Regions from separate parts of the Homo sapiens genome. Here all the other regions are linked to region 3. Evidence: promoter capture Hi-C in 16 types of primary human blood cells and fetal thymus (Javierre and others, 2016). All regions are on one chromosome and are shown on one strand. The core of a region is centred on a gene start or on the middle of the fragment in contact, and the rest is flanking DNA. Distances in the headings are between cores, read along the strand shown.

Evidence for each region. The method cuts DNA at HindIII sites, captures the fragments that hold promoters and counts their contacts. A CHiCAGO score of 5 or more calls a contact.
Region 1: a fragment that was not itself captured here is called in contact with the fragment with the promoter of LINC01996 in region 3 in 2 of 17 cell types (M0 macrophages and M1 macrophages); the score reaches 6.7 in M0 macrophages.
Region 2: a contact is called between a fragment that was not itself captured here and the fragment with the promoter of LINC01996 in region 3, in 2 of 17 cell types (M0 macrophages and M2 macrophages). The highest score is 7.0, in M0 macrophages.

The regions. Positions count from the first base shown.
Region 1 is chr17:4,558,743-4,561,726 of GRCh38, reverse strand. GGT6 (gamma-glutamyltransferase 6) reads left to right here and starts at 1,150. Exons shown (of 4, transcript NM_001288702.2): 1 at 1,150-1,345; 2 at 1,967-2,169; 3 at 2,271-2,384; 4 at 2,670-2,984. The coding sequence starts at 1,206. The HindIII fragment of the contact is 825 bases long and covers 1,264-2,088 here.
Region 2 is chr17:4,575,907-4,578,606 of GRCh38, reverse strand. No RefSeq gene overlaps it. Among named protein-coding and RNA genes, the nearest start is that of SMTNL2, 7.3 kb to the left of the region's middle. The HindIII fragment of the contact is 9,660 bases long and covers 1-2,700 here.
Region 3 is chr17:4,609,135-4,612,135 of GRCh38, reverse strand. LINC01996 (long intergenic non-protein coding RNA 1996) reads right to left here and starts at 1,687. Exons shown (of 2, transcript NR_145431.1): 1 at 1,303-1,687. The HindIII fragment of the contact is 12,447 bases long and covers 1-1,847 here.

The DNA.
Region 1 (2,984 bases), core at 427-2,926, 50 kb after region 3:
CTCTACTAAAAATACAAAAAATTAGCCAGGCGTGGTGGCATGTGCCTGTAATCCCAGCTACTCGGGAGGCTGAGGCAGAAGAATTGCTTGAACCCAGGAGGTGGAAGTTGCAGTGAGCTGAGATTGCACCATTGCACTCCAGCCTGGGCAACAAGAATGAAAACTCTGTCAAGAAAGAAAGAAGAGAAAGAAAAGAAAGGTAAAGGAAAAAGGAAAGGAAAGAAAGGAAGGAAAGAAAGGACATCTCCAGCATTCCAGAAACCCCCTGGTACCTCCTCCAGTCACTATCTGACTTCTAAGGGCAGACTGTTGTTGCTCTTTTGTTGTTGCCTGTTTGTGTACTTTGTGTAAATGAAAGCATATAGCGTGCGCTGTCTCCTGCCTGGCTGCTTTCCCTCGTCCTTATGCTTGTCAGACCTGTGTATATTATTGCATATAATTGTAGATCACTCACTCTCTTTGCTGCAGAGTGGTCCATTGTGACTTACATCATTCATTCTAACGATAATGGATGTTTGGGCACTTTCCAATTTGGGACTGTTACAAACAGCACTGTTTTGCAACAAGTCCTTGATGGGAATCCCAGAATGAATTTAGAAATGTTGGTTTCCAGGCTGTGGCGCTACCTTCTGGACAAGAGTCGCAAAACACGCACAGGGAGTTACGAACCAAGTTGCTCCTCAAAGAAACCCAGACCCAGAGTAGCCACAGGCTGAGCCTTGACCCCGGCCAGAGACCAGACACCCCTACGCCAGAACCTAGTCACGTGCAGACTCAAGCACGTGGGAGCTCTGACCCAAGCCACCGTGAAACCGTAGCTCTAATTCAAGTCCACAGTCCCTAGAGTCCCAGGTGGGTGGGATCCATGGGCTACATCCCCCAAGGGGAGGAGCCCAGCAGGTGCCCTGAGTATCAAGGTTGTGGCATTAAGGCTGAACTCCTTCTCGACCTCACTGAGCTGTGGCCCCTTACAGGCAGTCACCCCGGGAACCCTGTCGCGAGAGCTCCTCGGGCCTTGTGTCCTAATGGGGCAGGCTCACATGCAGCCTCCTTGGCCCCGTGCCCTGCCCAGACCTGTTCTGGATTCCACCCCCACCCTTCCCCAAGGTCGCTGCCACCTCCCACCTGCCAGGCTTGGGCAGGGCCTCTGAGACACAGCCGGAAAGGCTGGCAGGCAGGAGGGCTGGGGCGAGCACTGGGGGGCCATGGAGCGGGCAGAAGAGCCCGTGGTCTATCAGAAGCTGCTGCCCTGGGAGCCAAGCTTGGAGTCGGAGGAGGAAGTGGAGGAGGAGGAGACATCAGAGGCGCTGGTTCTAAACCCCCGGAGGCACCAGGACTCTTCCAGGTAAGTAAGGGAGGGGTCTGGGCACCAGGCTCCCCAGGCTTGAGGTTGGCAAGTCCCTCTCTCTGGAGCCCCTCAGGGGGACCAGGCGACTCCCCGCTGGGTTTAGCTCCAGGCACTGTACGGTCAATTTGGGGGAAAACCCAGGCTGTAGCCCGAGACTTGGCCTGACCCAATCAAAAGTCTGTGCATCTGGAGGGACATTTGTACCAAGCCAGCCTCTGTCCCATCTGCTGCTTTGTCAAAGGTCCCCAGCCCCCAAGTCCTGGTGCAGGAGGCACCTGCTGGGCAGGTTGGGGCCTGACTACGCCTGGCTGGGCCTGCTCCCCAGCCCCTTCTCTCCTGCCTGCCACACCCCACTGGGCCTCCCTCCCACCTGAGTGGACTCTGCCCCACCAATCTCCCCTCCAGAGGCTCCCTCCCTAGCTAGGCTCAGTTTCCCCAGATGCTTTCCCATCCCCATGTCTGCCCAAGATGCACCCGCTGCCAAGAAGCCCTTTCTCCTTGGCTGACTTGTGCTCCTCTTGCTAAATCAAACCTTTTGGGAAATATTCCCTGGGGTCTCTTGGGGTCCTTGGGCATCCCTCTGTCCCAGCCGTGGCTCAGGACACCCCCCCTCTGCAGGAACAAGGCTGGCGGGCTGCCCGGAACCTGGGCCCGTGTAGTGGCAGCCCTGCTGCTGCTGGCTGTTGGCTGCTCCCTGGCTGTGAGGCAGCTCCAGAATCAGGGCAGGTCGACAGGAAGCTTGGGCTCTGTGGCCCCTCCACCCGGCGGACACTCCCACGGCCCTGGCGTATACCACCACGGTGCCATCATCAGCCCTGCAGGTCAGTCAGTGCTGGGGGCGGCTTGGGGAGGGGAGGGTCAGGGGTCACCAGCCCAGCCTAGCCCCCCTCCTTGCTGCATGACAGTGCCTTCCTTGCTGCAGCCACATGCTCCCACCTAGGCCGAGAGCTGCTTGTTGCCGGGGGCAACGTCGTGGATGCTGGAGTTGGAGCTGCATTGTGCCTGGCAGTGGTGCATCCTCATGCCACGGGGCTAGGTCAGTGACCCCTGACCCCAGACTGCAACCCCAACCCACAGCCTGATCAGTGACCTGGAACTTAGGGAGTCAGTAGCACTGACCTCAAGACTGCTAAGTGAGCAGGACTTAGGGTTTGGGCAGCAGTCCAACCCCAGGCTATGACCCTTGAGCCCGGGTCTGTGGAACTTTGACCTCAGGCCTGGTCAGTAACTCCTGATCCCAGGCTCAGTCAAGGGATCTTGACTGAAACAAGTCAGTGACCCTTGACCTGCGGCTGCTGAGGGACCCCTCTGTCTCCTGCAGGTGCCATGTTTTGGGGCCTCTTCCACGATAGCTCCTCAGGCAATTCCACGGCCCTGACATCAGGCCCAGCACAGACCCTGGCCCCCGGCCTGGGGCTGCCCGCGGCTCTGCCCACCCTGCACCTGCTGCATGCACGCTTCGGCCGCCTGCCCTGGCCACGCCTGCTAGTGGGCCCCACCACGCTGGCTCAGGAGGGCTTCCTGGTGGACACACCCCTGGCAAGGGCTCTGGTGGCTCGGGGCACAGAAGGCCTCTGTCCACTACTTTGCCATGCTGATGGGACACCCCTGGGCGCTGGGGCCCGAGCCACCAACC
Region 2 (2,700 bases), core at 37-2,536, 33 kb after region 3:
GGAGCGTCTCTGCCCGGCCGCCCTGTCTGGGAAGTGAGGAGACCCTCTGCCCGGCAGCCACCCCGTATGAGAGGTGAGGAGCCCCTCCGCCCCGCAGCCACCCCATCCGGGAGGTGGGGAGCGTCTCCGCCCGGCAGCCACCCTGTCCGGGAGGGAGGTGAGGGGGTCAGCCCCCCGCCCGGCCAGCTGCCCCGTCCGGGAGGTGAGGGGCGCCTCTGCCTGGCCGCCCCTACTGGGAAGTGAGGAGCCCCTCTGCCCGGCCACCACCCCGTCTGGGAGGTGTACCCAACAGCTCATTGAGAACGGGCCAGGATGACAATGGCAGTTTTGTGGAATAGAAAAGGGGGAAAAGTGGGGAAAAGATTGAGAAATCGGTTGGTTGCCGTGTCTGTGTAGAAAGAAGTAGATATGGGAGACTTCATTTTGTTCTGTACTAAGAAAAATTCTTCTGCCTTGGGATCCTGTTGATCTGTGACCTTACCCCCAACCCTGTGCTCTCTGAAACATGTGCTGTGTCCACTCAGGGTTAAATGGATTAAGGGCGGTGCAAGATGTGCTTTGTTAAACAGGAAAAAAAAAAAAAAAAAGAAAGAAGAAAATCCATCTCTACTAAAAATGCAAAAAATTAGCTGGGCGTGGTGGCATGCGCCTGTAATCCCAGCTACTTGGGAGGCTGAGGCACGAGAATCGTTTGAACTGGGGAAGTGGAGGTTGCAGTGCACTCCAGCCTGGATGACAGATCCAGACTCCATCTAAAAAAAAAAATCAGGATGGCTGTGATGTGGGGAAAGAAGAGAGTGAGCAGAGTTTCTTGCCCTCCTGCACCAACCTCTTGACCCCACTAAGGAAGAATTTCCCACAGGCCTCTGCGGAGGCCCAGGCTACCCGTTGAACAAACACCACCTATTCCTGCACAGAGGGGCTGCTGTCCTCCCCCAAGAGGCGGGGGCTGCGCAGGGTGTGGGGTGGAGACAGCTGCTTCCAGCCCAGATAAGGCTGTTGGGCTCAGATTTTCCATTTCCAGGATCCTCCCCCTTGGGTCCCAGCCCCTAAGCCCTGGCCCCATGGCCTGGAGAGGGCTCTACACTGACCCACTCAGCTCCCACCCTGAAAACTGCAAAGCCAGGAGGGGAGACTGAGTCCAGGAAGAACAGGCACATGTTTAAGGTCTTCAGGCAAAGCAGGGACAAGTTTGTCCTGGGCCACTGGGAATTGAAGAGGGGGTCTCTGGGGGCAGGCCAGGCCCAGCCTGGGTGGCCCTCAGAGCTCATATCCGGACTCTTGGACCTCCGGAAACCCACCCAGAGATGGGAGGAAGGAGGACTGGCCGCTCCTCTTACAACAACAGTCCCTGCACGCACTCTCCCTGTGGAGCTTGACTGCTCCAGCCCAGAGGATCTCCAACCGTGGGCCCTGTCCCCTTCTTCCCTCACCCCCTCCACAGCTTCCCACCAAAAGACCTGGTGCCTTCAGCCTGGCCTGGGCCTGCCTCCCTTCCCCCTTCTCAGAGACGGGGCCGGGGGAGGGGTTATTCATAGGCCCCGGCTCAGCAGCCTTCAGGACAAGAGGAGCCCGAGCTCCGGGGCTCTGCCCCCTGGGCCTTCCCCAGGGGCCTCACAGGCAGTGTCTGCTTTCAGCCCAGCAAAAGGCTGCGTCAGTCAGAGTGGGCAGTGGGGGTGGGGAGGCCAGGCCAAGGCAGGGGCTGGGCTGAGCCCTGGGCCTGGAGCCCACTGGAGCCGCTGCAGCCCATAGATCAGCGGGGCTTCCTCAAAAGTACCGTGGAGACTAACTGGGGCTGGGGCTGGCGGGGGAGGTCTCGGAGGCACCAGCCCCTCCTCGGCAAGGCCCGGAGGTGCCATCAAGCTGCCGCTTCCCCTATAGCCCCCAGCTGTGTCTTGATTTGACAACCTGTCCCAGCTAGGACCCCTACCCCTGACTCATGGGTCCCCTCGCCAACAGGGGAACGCCTGAGGGGGCCATTCAAGGCCCTTCCTAACCAGCCCCCCACCCACCTCTCCAACCCCCCTTTCTCAGCCGCTGCCGCCCACAAACACACAAACACAAAACTCTTTCGTGCTTCTGTGATTGTGCCTGGCCTTCTACTTCTCAAACGGACACATCCCTGCTCATCCTCCAGATCGGGGTCCAGCTTAACCACCCCCTTCTCCGGGAAGCCCTCCCTGATAAAGCCTGTCCTTACCTCCTTACCTCCACTAACCCTGCACGGTGCCCACTAGGACACATCCCTCCTCGCACTCCCCATCTTCCTCCTCCAAAGCAGGGCTTGTGTTTCTCAAGCAGTGGTCTCTGTTTAGGGTGTGTCTGTGTGGGCCACCTGCCCCCCTATCAGGTGAGGGGCTCTCTAAAGGGCAGGACCCTGTCTCCTTGTCCCTCTGTCCCCATCACTCACCCCCACTCCATCAGCCAATACTTGATGAATGAGTGAATTGCTGAATAAACAATGGATGATGAAGAGGAGAAGGGAGGGAAGGGAAGCAGGAAAGACCCCCTCTGTGTCTCCTGAGCCCAGGGTAACCGCTTGGTGTCCCAGTGGGCGGGAAAGTGGCAGGGGCAGCTCAGGCCAGGTCTCGGTGACACGGCTCGGCCCTGTGCAGCAGCCAGATCGGTCACCCTCATTCTTTCCAGATCAAAGTTCCCCCGGGGAACAGCCTGGAACCTGACACTGGCACCGGGAGGGTG
Region 3 (3,001 bases), core at 438-2,937:
GAACAGTTTGAGCATCAAAAAAAATTATAACAGTAAGCGATTACAACACATTGAATTAAAAAAAAAAATCCATGGGCCTCCAGGAACACTCAAAAACTGAGTTGGAGGGAGGGAAAGACTTTCTTTACAGAAGAATGCCAGCCAGTAAACATCAAAGAAATATATGTTTTTTTTTTTTTTGAGATGGAGTCTCGCTCTGTCGCCCAGGCTGGAGTGCAGTGGCACGATCTCCGCTCACTGCAAGCTCCTCCCGGGTTCACGCCATTCTCCTGCCTCAGCCTCCTGAGTAGCTGGGACTACAGGCGCCCGCCACCACGCCCAGCTAATTTTTTGTATTTTTAGTAGAGACGGGGGTTTCACCGTACTAGCCAGGATGGTCTCGATCCCCTGACCTCGTGATTCGTCTGCCTCGGCCTCCCAAAGTGCTGGGATTACAGGCGTGAGCCACCGCGCCCGGCCAGAAATACAATTTTTTGAGACAGAGTTTCACTCTTGTTGCCCAGGCTGGAGTGCAATGGCTCAATCTCGGCTCACTGCAACCTCAACCAAATTGAGGTAAAACACTCAATTTGGACATCCACAGACTCCCCAAAGTCCTGGGCTATGAACCCTAATGTAGAAGAAGGAGCATAGAGCTTAGGTCACAGCACATAGGAGCAACAAGCCGAGGAGAGGAGGCTCTAATGAACAGAGGAGGGAAAGCAACAGCCAGAGAGGAGGGCAAGCCAGGAAGAGCCTCGGCAGCACAAATGCCACTCAGTCTGCAAACCAGATAAGGACGCTTGCACTGGGAGTGATTAAAACTCAGATCCCCGGCCGGGCGCAGTGGCTCATGCCTGTAATCCCAGCACTTTGGGAGGCCAAGGCAGGCGGATCACTTGAGGTCAGGAGTTCGAGACCAGCCTGACCAACATGGTGAAACCCCGTCTGTACTAAAAATACAAAAATTAGCCTGGCATGGTGGCGGGCGCCTGTACATCCAGCTACACAGGAGGCTGAGGCACGAGAATCGCTTGAACCTGGGAGGTGGAGGTTGCAGTGAGCCAAGATTGTGCCACTGCACTCCAGCCTGGGTGACAGAGTGAGACTCCGTCTCAAAAAAAACAAAAACAAACAAAAAATCAGAACCCTAAAGATCGATTTTATATCCACCTACGTGACAGTAAGAAAGCTGGATCAACTTCAGGAATGAAGGTGGACAGTCAAGACCTACGGTAACACTGTCTGGTGTCTCTCTGGTGCCACCACCCACATCACCTGCCTCTGGTTCAGGGCCCCTTCCCAGCTTGTCATCCCACCTACCTGGACCTTGTCCCTCCAGTGAAGGCTGCCCGGATGCCTCAGAGAGCACAGCCTTCTTAGCTTCATTCTTCCGGAGTGCTTTTCCTTATTTGGTGCTTTCTAGGGAGTAGGCAGGTCAGGTCTTAGGGATTTTTCTTTCTTTCTTTCTTTCTTTTTTGAGACAGGGTCTCACTCTATCTCCAGGCAGTGGCACAACCATCGCTCACTGATGCCTTGACCTCCCAGGCTCAAGCCATCCTCCCGCCTTGGCCTTCCAAGTAATGGGGACTACAAGCATGTGTCACTACACCTGGCTAATTTTAAAACTTTCTGTAGAGACAGAGTCTCACTCTGTTGCCCAGGCTGGTCTCAAACTCCAGAGCTCAAATATTTGTCCTGTCTCGGCCTCCCAAAGTGCTAGGACTACAGGCATGAGCCACCGCGCCCAGCCTAGGAATTTTTAAGGTGTTCTTTCAAAAGACTATGAGGGCTGTTTGGTATCAAAGCAAGTCCAAGAACCAAGAGATAAGAGATCAAAAGCTCTAAAAGCAAACCCAATCCAAGCTTTAAAAGTGAGAGAGATAAGATGGCTCAGAAATAATCATACTGGGTCCATTTATCAGGTGGTTGGGAGAGCACAGCTAACAGAGGGAGAAAAAATAAATCAAGTGGGCCACGTCCACAGGCGTAATCAACTCATCAGAATGAGTTGGTCACCTGTCACCAGCTAGAAAAACCCAAGCCAGAGTTGGTTCTGCTGGACTGGTAAGATGTCCCACCCCAAACTGACCAACTGAATCAGCATTTCTAGTCTTCTGTGCAATTGCCTGCAGTCGTATAGACCCGGTCATGATGGCAGAGAATAAAATCTTCTCTCACACCGGTCTCCAGTTACAGAGTTCTGATCACTGCAACCGGGAAAGCTGAGAACTCTTCATCATCTAGCACATTTGCGAAATTCATTGGCTTTAACAAACTGTTCCCCAAACACCTGGCCTGTGCGGTCTCCTCTCACCAGCATGTGCTCTGTCATATTCAGAAAGTGCTTATAGGCTCTCGCTTGCCTTGAAAAATATCCATCAGCTATCAGAAAAGCTAAAACCCATCGTGGCTCTGGTGAAACGTTCACTTCAGGGAAACACACAAGCCAATTTGGTCCGACTTAATAAGTTTAACAAAATCCAGGTGAAGGAATCTATCTGGAAAAACAGAAGACTCTTATGAGCAGCTCCAAGAAATAATTCTCTCGGGAAAGGGGAAAAAAGATGTGAATTCCTCCATACCAGGGTAGAAAGCAAGATGAAATTGGGTCTCACAAATGGGGAACATTCACGTAACCCCGACCTAAAACGGTGGTTTCCAAATATCTTAGGATTGTGAGACCTTCCTGGATTTTCTTCTCATGCTTTGTCTTAGAGGTAAAATCATGTTTGAAACTCACAAACTGTCTTATGATCTCTCACCCCCCACCCCCAACAAAGACCACAGACAAGAACATCATGGAACCAACTTTAAAAACTCGAGTCTGTCTCATTCTGAATGTGAGACATGAGGGACACCATTCCTAAAGTTTAAAAGAAATTGTTCTGCATTCTGGCAGGATCTGCTCTGTTTCATGCGCAGAGCGTACGGCCATGTCTGCAACTCGGGAGAGCTCCATTTAACGTGTGCGAGGACTCAGTAACATATAGCCATGCTTTTTACAGAGCCCTTGTGTTCC